Linked DNA regions of Homo sapiens: region 2 is linked to region 1. The links are contacts of gene promoters, found by promoter capture Hi-C in blood cells and fetal thymus (Javierre and others, 2016). All regions are on one chromosome and are shown on one strand. Each heading gives the region's core, a stretch centred on a gene start or on the middle of the fragment in contact. The rest is flanking DNA. Distances are from core to core; before and after follow the strand shown.

The links. The method cuts DNA at HindIII sites, captures the fragments that hold promoters and counts their contacts. A CHiCAGO score of 5 or more calls a contact.
Region 2: a fragment that was not itself captured here is called in contact with the fragment with the promoter of IMMP2L in region 1 in 1 of 17 cell types (total CD4 T cells); the score reaches 5.5 in total CD4 T cells.

The regions. Positions count from the first base shown.
Region 1 is chr7:111,561,047-111,564,437 of GRCh38, forward strand. IMMP2L (inner mitochondrial membrane peptidase subunit 2) reads right to left here and starts at 1,446. Exons shown (of 6, transcript NM_032549.4): 1 at 805-1,446. RefSeq lists a silencer at 978-1,607. The HindIII fragment of the contact is 1,654 bases long and covers 287-1,940 here.
Region 2 is chr7:108,580,788-108,584,591 of GRCh38, forward strand. No RefSeq gene overlaps it. Among named protein-coding and RNA genes, the nearest start is that of DNAJB9, 13 kb to the left of the region's middle. RefSeq lists a silencer at 1,264-1,464. The HindIII fragment of the contact is 5,107 bases long and covers 1-3,804 here.

The sequences.
Region 1 (3,391 bases), core at 196-2,695:
ATAGGATGCATAATGAGCTCCCAACCTTGTGAGAGGAGCTGTGTTTCATTTCACCATACAGGGGAGAGGGAAGCAGTGTATTAAAGAAGTGATAGAAAAGTCCCACAGAAGAACCAATGAAATAGACCACACTGAAAATCACAGTAAGCCTCAGAGAACTTCAGTGTCCTTTTTGGCAACTTTTCAAAAGTGAATGGAATGCTTGCCAGGAGGTACCAAGAGTGAAAGCCCAGAGAAAAAGGCCCAGCCTGGTCATCTCTCTCCCCTCAAAACATCTTCTTCTGTAAGCTTGAGAGATCCCAAAGAACTTCAACACTTGTAATCTTGTTACTAACTTTATGCTTTGGGGTCCTAAAGGATTTTTTCAGGAGTACCCTTTTAAAATGTAAACATCCCTAGGGGGGTTACTGTTCATTATCAAACAGGACCTGGATTCTTTAGTGCTATGGTCTCAGGGATTAGTCAAAGCTGGCTAATAAGATAGGGGCCGGAGACAGACAACTAGAGAGGACCAATGTTCCAAGGTAAAAACAGGTAAAGGGGAAGTGCAGTTTTCTGTCGGGTCAAGGGGCTAAAAGGGATCCACATGCCCAAGCTGTTAAACTCTATAGACTGTGTGAGGCTGAAAACAGTCCGGGGCCTGGAGCCTGTGACTTTGAAGGTGGGTCCTCCAGTTCCCGATGAAAAGGTAGAATCTGGGCCCAAGTTCCCCACGAGCAGTTCTGGACATCTAGCCCTTCTCTCTCTCGCTCGCTCTCAGGATAAAGTCCTAGGTCCTTCCACCCCTGACCATTCCTTACTTACCCTTTCTCCCGCTCTTCCTCGGTGAGAAGGGGTAAGTGGTTATTTTGTGCCCTCGCCCAATTTGGCCAAAACCCTAAAAGTAAAAAACGACAGACAGACACGTGCTTTAAAATCATGTTGTTCAAGCCTGACGCTCTCCCACCACCTGCCCAACACTTCCAGGCAGAAGGCAGCGCGCCCCCACAGCGCTCCCTCACGGCCAGAGCCGGGGGCCGGACTAGGCCCCTTTGTGAGGACTGGGAGAGGGCGCGTTGTTGGGGCGCCGGCTCGGCGGGGAGGAGCGGGCCAGCTCCGGGCCAGGTGTGCCGCCTGTGGCGCCGGTTTCTCAACCTAGTTAGCCAGTGGCACCAAGAAGAGGACTAGGCTGGGGTGGCCGCCGCACGCGCCTCAGATAAACACGCGCACGCACACATGCTCGCGATCACGCAGGACTCGCGGCCGCGCACCCCTCCGCCTCCCGGCAACGCCCGCCCCGCCGGGGCCGGGGCCGACTCCCAGGGAAGGGTCCCCAGCCCAAGAGACCACCAAGGGTCGGCGGCTACGCGCCCGCCGACCCCTGCCAGCCTCACAGCCCCCCACCCGCCGCCGGACGCCGGGCGCCCGCCCTCCGCACCCGCTGCGCAGCTCAGCCCGGGGGAAGTCCCCGCGCAGACCCCGCCCTCCGCCGGCGGCAAGCTCCGCCCCGCTGCCCCGTCGCGCGCTGGCCGCCCGAAGCTCCGCCCCCGGCGGAAAACTGGTCTCTGGACCGCCCGCCCAGGTCGGGCTCAAAATGCGGCGTGGATCTGAAAGGATCAAACACAACACTAATTCAGCAAGCTATTATTGAGCACTTGCCCTAAGCTCAGCAACGTACTAATGGGGGAGACTACAATAAAGAGCCGAAAAGTCTATGAAACTGTGTCTTCAGCTCTTCCTCTTGTTTTAGAAGCCAGGAAACAGAGAACCCTCACAGTTACTTAAGTACAGGGCAGTAGTGGCAAAGCACCTCACTAGCGATCTCTGGGCAACTCTTCATTTCATTTTTTCCTACTCATGAGCACTCAGGAAAACTATTCAGTTTTGCTGCCTCCAGGTAAAACAAAGTGAGTAACACAGGACAGGCGGTTTACTTGAGAGAAACGGGAATTTCATACTGAAGCTTTTGCCCTCAAATGGTACAAACTCTTTTTTTTTTTTTCCTGAGACGGAGTCTCGCTCTGTCGCCAGAGCGACACTGCAATCTCCGCCTCCCGGGTTCACGCCATTCTCCTGCCTCAGCCTCCCTAGTAGCCGGGACTACAGGCCCCCGCCACCATGCCCGGCTAATCTTCTTGTATTTTTAGTAGAGATGGGATTTCACCGTGTTAGCAAAGATGGTCTCCATCTCCTGACCTCGTGATCCGCTCACCTAGGCCTCCCAAAGTGCTAGGATTACAGGCGTGAGCCACTGCGCCCGGCCGAATGGTACAAACTCTTAACTGGGTTATTACAACCTACAAAGAAACCTTCTTATCCATGTTATTAATTATCCTAATTCAATGTGGTTTAAAATGTTGATGAAAGTACCCAAATCATGGTGCTCCAACAAGCTGGATGCCAACCAGGTACTCGTAAGTACTTGCAATTACAGGTGCGATATTTTCATTCCATATCATCCCAAGATGCCCTTCCTTCACGTGAAGCAGCCAGAAAGATCAACTACCAGATTCCGCATGATTGAGGAATTGATAAATAGAAAGGGAAGACCGAAACCGGCCAAATTTTCCCTTCGAAGTGAAACTTGAGAAACTTGCGTGCATTTTACCTGAGTTCCTTTCTCAGCAGATAAACTGTCAGACCTCCCAGATAGTGTCAAGGAAATGCAACTTTCCAGAACACTACATCTGGACAATGAGGTGCATCTGCTGCCTGTTCACAAACTCCTCTTCCTTACCCCTCCATAATTCCCTGCTATAGAAAGCCCTAACTTTAGTCTCCCTAAGACATGTTTGAGACTGGTCTCCCTGCCAGCATCACCTGCATTAAAGCCTGTCTTCCCTGGCAATACTCGTTGTCTCAGGGACTGGTTTTCTTTGCTAGGAGCAACCCAACCTAGGCTGAAGCCCAGGCATTTAGCAGCAGTGGCACCTAGAAATACTGAACAGACATAAAATACTTTTTTTCTCCTTTTCTTACTCCTCCAGTTGTATCTTCATTATTTCTGTCTCTATTCTCCCTCTAGATACTGCCAAACTACTCTGTGCACTTTCAGATCACTTAATACTAATGTAAATAACAGACATTCTGGCACTCTTGGTTCAAAATTTATTCTAAAGGTTTAAGAATCTACTCAGGGTCTTAAATAGCCTGATAACTAAAATTCCAAGAGTTTCCTAAAGAGAGCAAAATTGCTCTCCTGTGAAGGGGATATGTCCCAGTTTTTCTTACTTGTCACTGAAATAATTACTGCAAAGTAAGCTCTTTTCGGCCAGTGCTTAAGGACTTAATTTCAAGAGCACTTAGGTGACAGGACCACCCTCATCAAATAGCAGTCAAGAACTATTTGGTACCATGACCCCAAATTGAATGGAGCTCCTGGTCACTAGGAACTGACAGTCTGGGATGGAAT
Region 2 (3,804 bases), core at 865-3,364, 3.0 Mb before region 1:
AAAATAATGTGATGAACAGAAACAGATTAAAATACTAATATAAATGAATAGTTAATTACAGAGTCTTGCTGGAATCAACAAATTTTTTTACTTTGCATATATGCATAAATGAAAAATTACTCATCTTGTACTCCATGTACACTTTTATAATAAAGTTTCCAGTAAGTGCCTACAAAATGGTCTCATGTTGTGGGAGAACCCAAAGGATTCACCAAAAAATAAATCATTAAAAAAGGAAAAGAAATGAAAAACAACAAATCTAGAAAAGCAACGTATAGAGTTTTGTTGGGAAGAGTTGCAAAGAAATGAGCAGTATTTGGTGGGGTAGTGGGGTCAAAAGAAGTTTCCTTACTAAGCAGTAATAATTAGTTTAACATATTTATGAAAAATAATATCAGGTGCTGAAATGATGGAGCAGTGTCTTCAAAGATCTGAGGGGAAAGTGCTTTTGAACTGAGGCCTAAATGGACACATTATTAATAGAGGATGAGACCAAATGAATGCATTTTGAAAATGTAAGAACTGAAAGATTACCACCCACATACCCTTTATGAAAAAAAACTGGCTTTTATTCTACATGGCAATGTACAAAAAAAGGAACAATATTGAGGACAAGAGATGATGGCAGCTGAGTTATACACCCTCAGGAGAAAATAAAACTAGAAGGAAATTGAAAGTATATATTAGAATTTGACACTTGGAAGTTTCTTTTGGGAAACAAGAAATATTTTGTTTCATGGATCTAGTTGCTCAATTTACAATGAAGTTGTTTGCATTATTATATTATAAATGTTTTCCAATCAGTGTGTAAACAAAGAAGGGAGGATTTAATTATATTTATAGGATAATCATGTGAAATGCACCTAACATATCAGGAAATGGAAGGAGAAAGGAAAATGGAAGGTGAAGTGTAAGAAAAGATTAGTGTATTAATTCTATTATCTTTCATAGTAGGTAATCAATTGACTCTGTCTAAAGTTATAAATCAAAGACTGGTGATTTAAGCACATTATTTTAAATTTTAATGACAATCGGAAGATCTGACAACAGACACAGGTAACATGATAGCTTTTAAGGAATGTGACTGGGAGTCGGGAAGATTTACTTTGCATTTTACTTCAATTTGTAATGTTTGAATTTTTGTTTGTGAATGCCTGATTCCCACATTAGTGTATTTTTAAGGAAAACAACAACCACAAACCCTGGTGTATCAGTGAGGATGCCTGCAGCAGCAGGTAACAGAAAACCCTAAACTAAATTTAATACATAAAATAAGCTGAGCAATAAAAGACTTACTTTCTTCTCTAACAAGAGGTACAGAGGTCAGGCAGCTCCAGGAATGGTATTCCAGGAATCTGGTTTTGCTTCTTAGTAGCTGTGTTGGCTCTGACCTCTCTGTGTGTTGGTCGCATCCTCAGGCTGGTAATAAAATGGTTGTTATGAGAAATGAAACCTTTTCTAGAATGTCCTCACAACACTTTCCCTCCCATCTTTATTGGCCAGAAATGCTACCTGTTGCTACAAGTCCATGCCCAAACTAATCACTAGTAAGGGGAATATGATGACCACAATTGATGTAGGTCAACAGTTAAGACCCAGAATGGTGGTCTGGTCTAGTCTCCCCTGAAACTCATCATTACATGGAAAAGCGTGGTGTTTTAGTCTGTTTAGTGCTACTACAACAGCATATCACAGACTGGGTAGCCTATAATAAAGATAAATTTGTCTCTCACAGCCCTGATGCTGGGAAGTCCAAGATCAAGGTGCTGGCATCTGGTGAGGGCTTTCTTGCAGTGTCATAACATGGCAGAAGGTATCATATGGGAGAAAGAGAGAGAGAGAGAGAGAACTCAGCTTTTTGTGAGGGAACTACTCCCATGATAATGGCATTAATTCATTCATGAGGACAGACCTCTCATGACCTAGTCACCTCTTAAAGGTCACACCTCTCAACATTGTAACATTGGGGATTAAGTTTCCAACATACGAACTTTGGGAGACACATTCAAATGGTAGCAGGTGGATACCAAGAAAAAAAGACATTATATTATAGGGGAATGAGAGAAGGATGTGTATCCTACAACCAGTTGAATATTAAAACTTAAAAACAGACCTCAGTGGTTTTTAAATCTTTATTTTCTTTATGATTTCTTCTTCACTATTAGATTATTTAGATGTTTTTAAAAAGGATTGGGCTCTTTTTGTACCCATGAATGATGGCTGGGTTTTTTTTTTTCAGTTAGAAACAAACCTCACCTTAAGTACTGTGGAATCTTGGCCTTGGTAGATGACATTTTTGGTTCCAACTATTTGGGACAGATTCCAAAGTTTCATGATGTAATAATTTATGATTTTTTTGAAGTATAAAATTGAATTGCAATTGTATGCCTTAATAGTCTACTCTTCACTCAGGTAGTAAGTGAGCATAGCTACCAATTCAACATCTATGTATAAAGATGTCTTTGGGTGGTTTGTAAATAAAATTATCTTTATCTTTGGGTAAAGATTACTTTATGTAGGCATTGATAAATGGTGTTCATTACATTAGAGATCCGAGTGTCTTTAATCAAGGTCAATACTATTTTTTTTTTTTTTTTTTCCTGGAATTGGTTGTGATCATGGCTCCTTTACTCAATCAAATCTTTTGCTGCCCACCTTTCTCCACTCTGCCTCATCCTGCCATGGTCACCTAAATTTCCCTCATCAATTTGAATACTAGCTTTGAATTTGAAACTACTGGCCTTTAGGGAGTCAAATCTACACCTGGATTATTTCCCTTAGCCTTGGCCCTGGAAACTCCTTGTTTTCACTCTCTCCCAAACAACTGATGCTGTTGAGGTCCCAAGGATGCCTCTGGTCGAGTCTTTTTGAGTTGTGACACATTATGCAATTATCACTCACTAAATCTGCAGTTTCAATCAGTATTGCAGACACTTTCAACTATTCAACTTTAGGATTAATTTCATATTATTTAAATATAATTTCATATAATAATTACCTGAAGAAACATTACATGATTCATTCCATATATTAGGGAAAAGTCATTACAATTCTCCACTGACATTTCACAATTTACTTTTAGTTACAACTAAGTGTATTAATATGTAGGTAATAATTTAAAAGTATTACAATATTTTCTTGTTTTAAGTAAATTTTACCTTAGCATTTTCTAAATGGTTATTCTAGGATAGGTCTTAAATTACATATTTCATAATTAGAAATGGAAGGAATGGTGTTTGTTAATGAATATCATTTGGTTCTTCTATTGATTTTTATCTTTTAGGTAATACTGGTTCTTATTCTCTGACACATAGATCAGTAATATAGGCCCATGTAAATCTGGGACATGAGATATGGAGAACAACATTTTTCTTTGCTTCTCAGGGAGGGTTATGATCCATTCATCTCTGTTCCCTTCTCTGTGTAGGTAAAAGAGTCTATTAGTCAGCATCAGTTAATTGATGTTGTGATAACCACCCCAAAATCTTAGTGACTTAGCACTATAAACATTTTTTTTTCTCATTCATACAAAATCTGCTGTGGGTCCAGGTTTCTTTCCATGGCAGCTGTCTCCCACCTGATGAGACATCAGTGCTGACTCATAAATTGTGGCTCTACCAGCTTAATGCAAGGCTTTTTTGGCTATCAGAGAAAGAAATAAGAGTCTCCCATTGTCAAATGCTTTGGCCCGGAAGTGACACATATACTTCACCCCACTGGCCAGGTATGGTCTTATGATGCCATCTAAGAGAAGGGATCTGGAAGTATAATCTTCTATGTGACTGGGAGGTAGAGTAGAGTTGG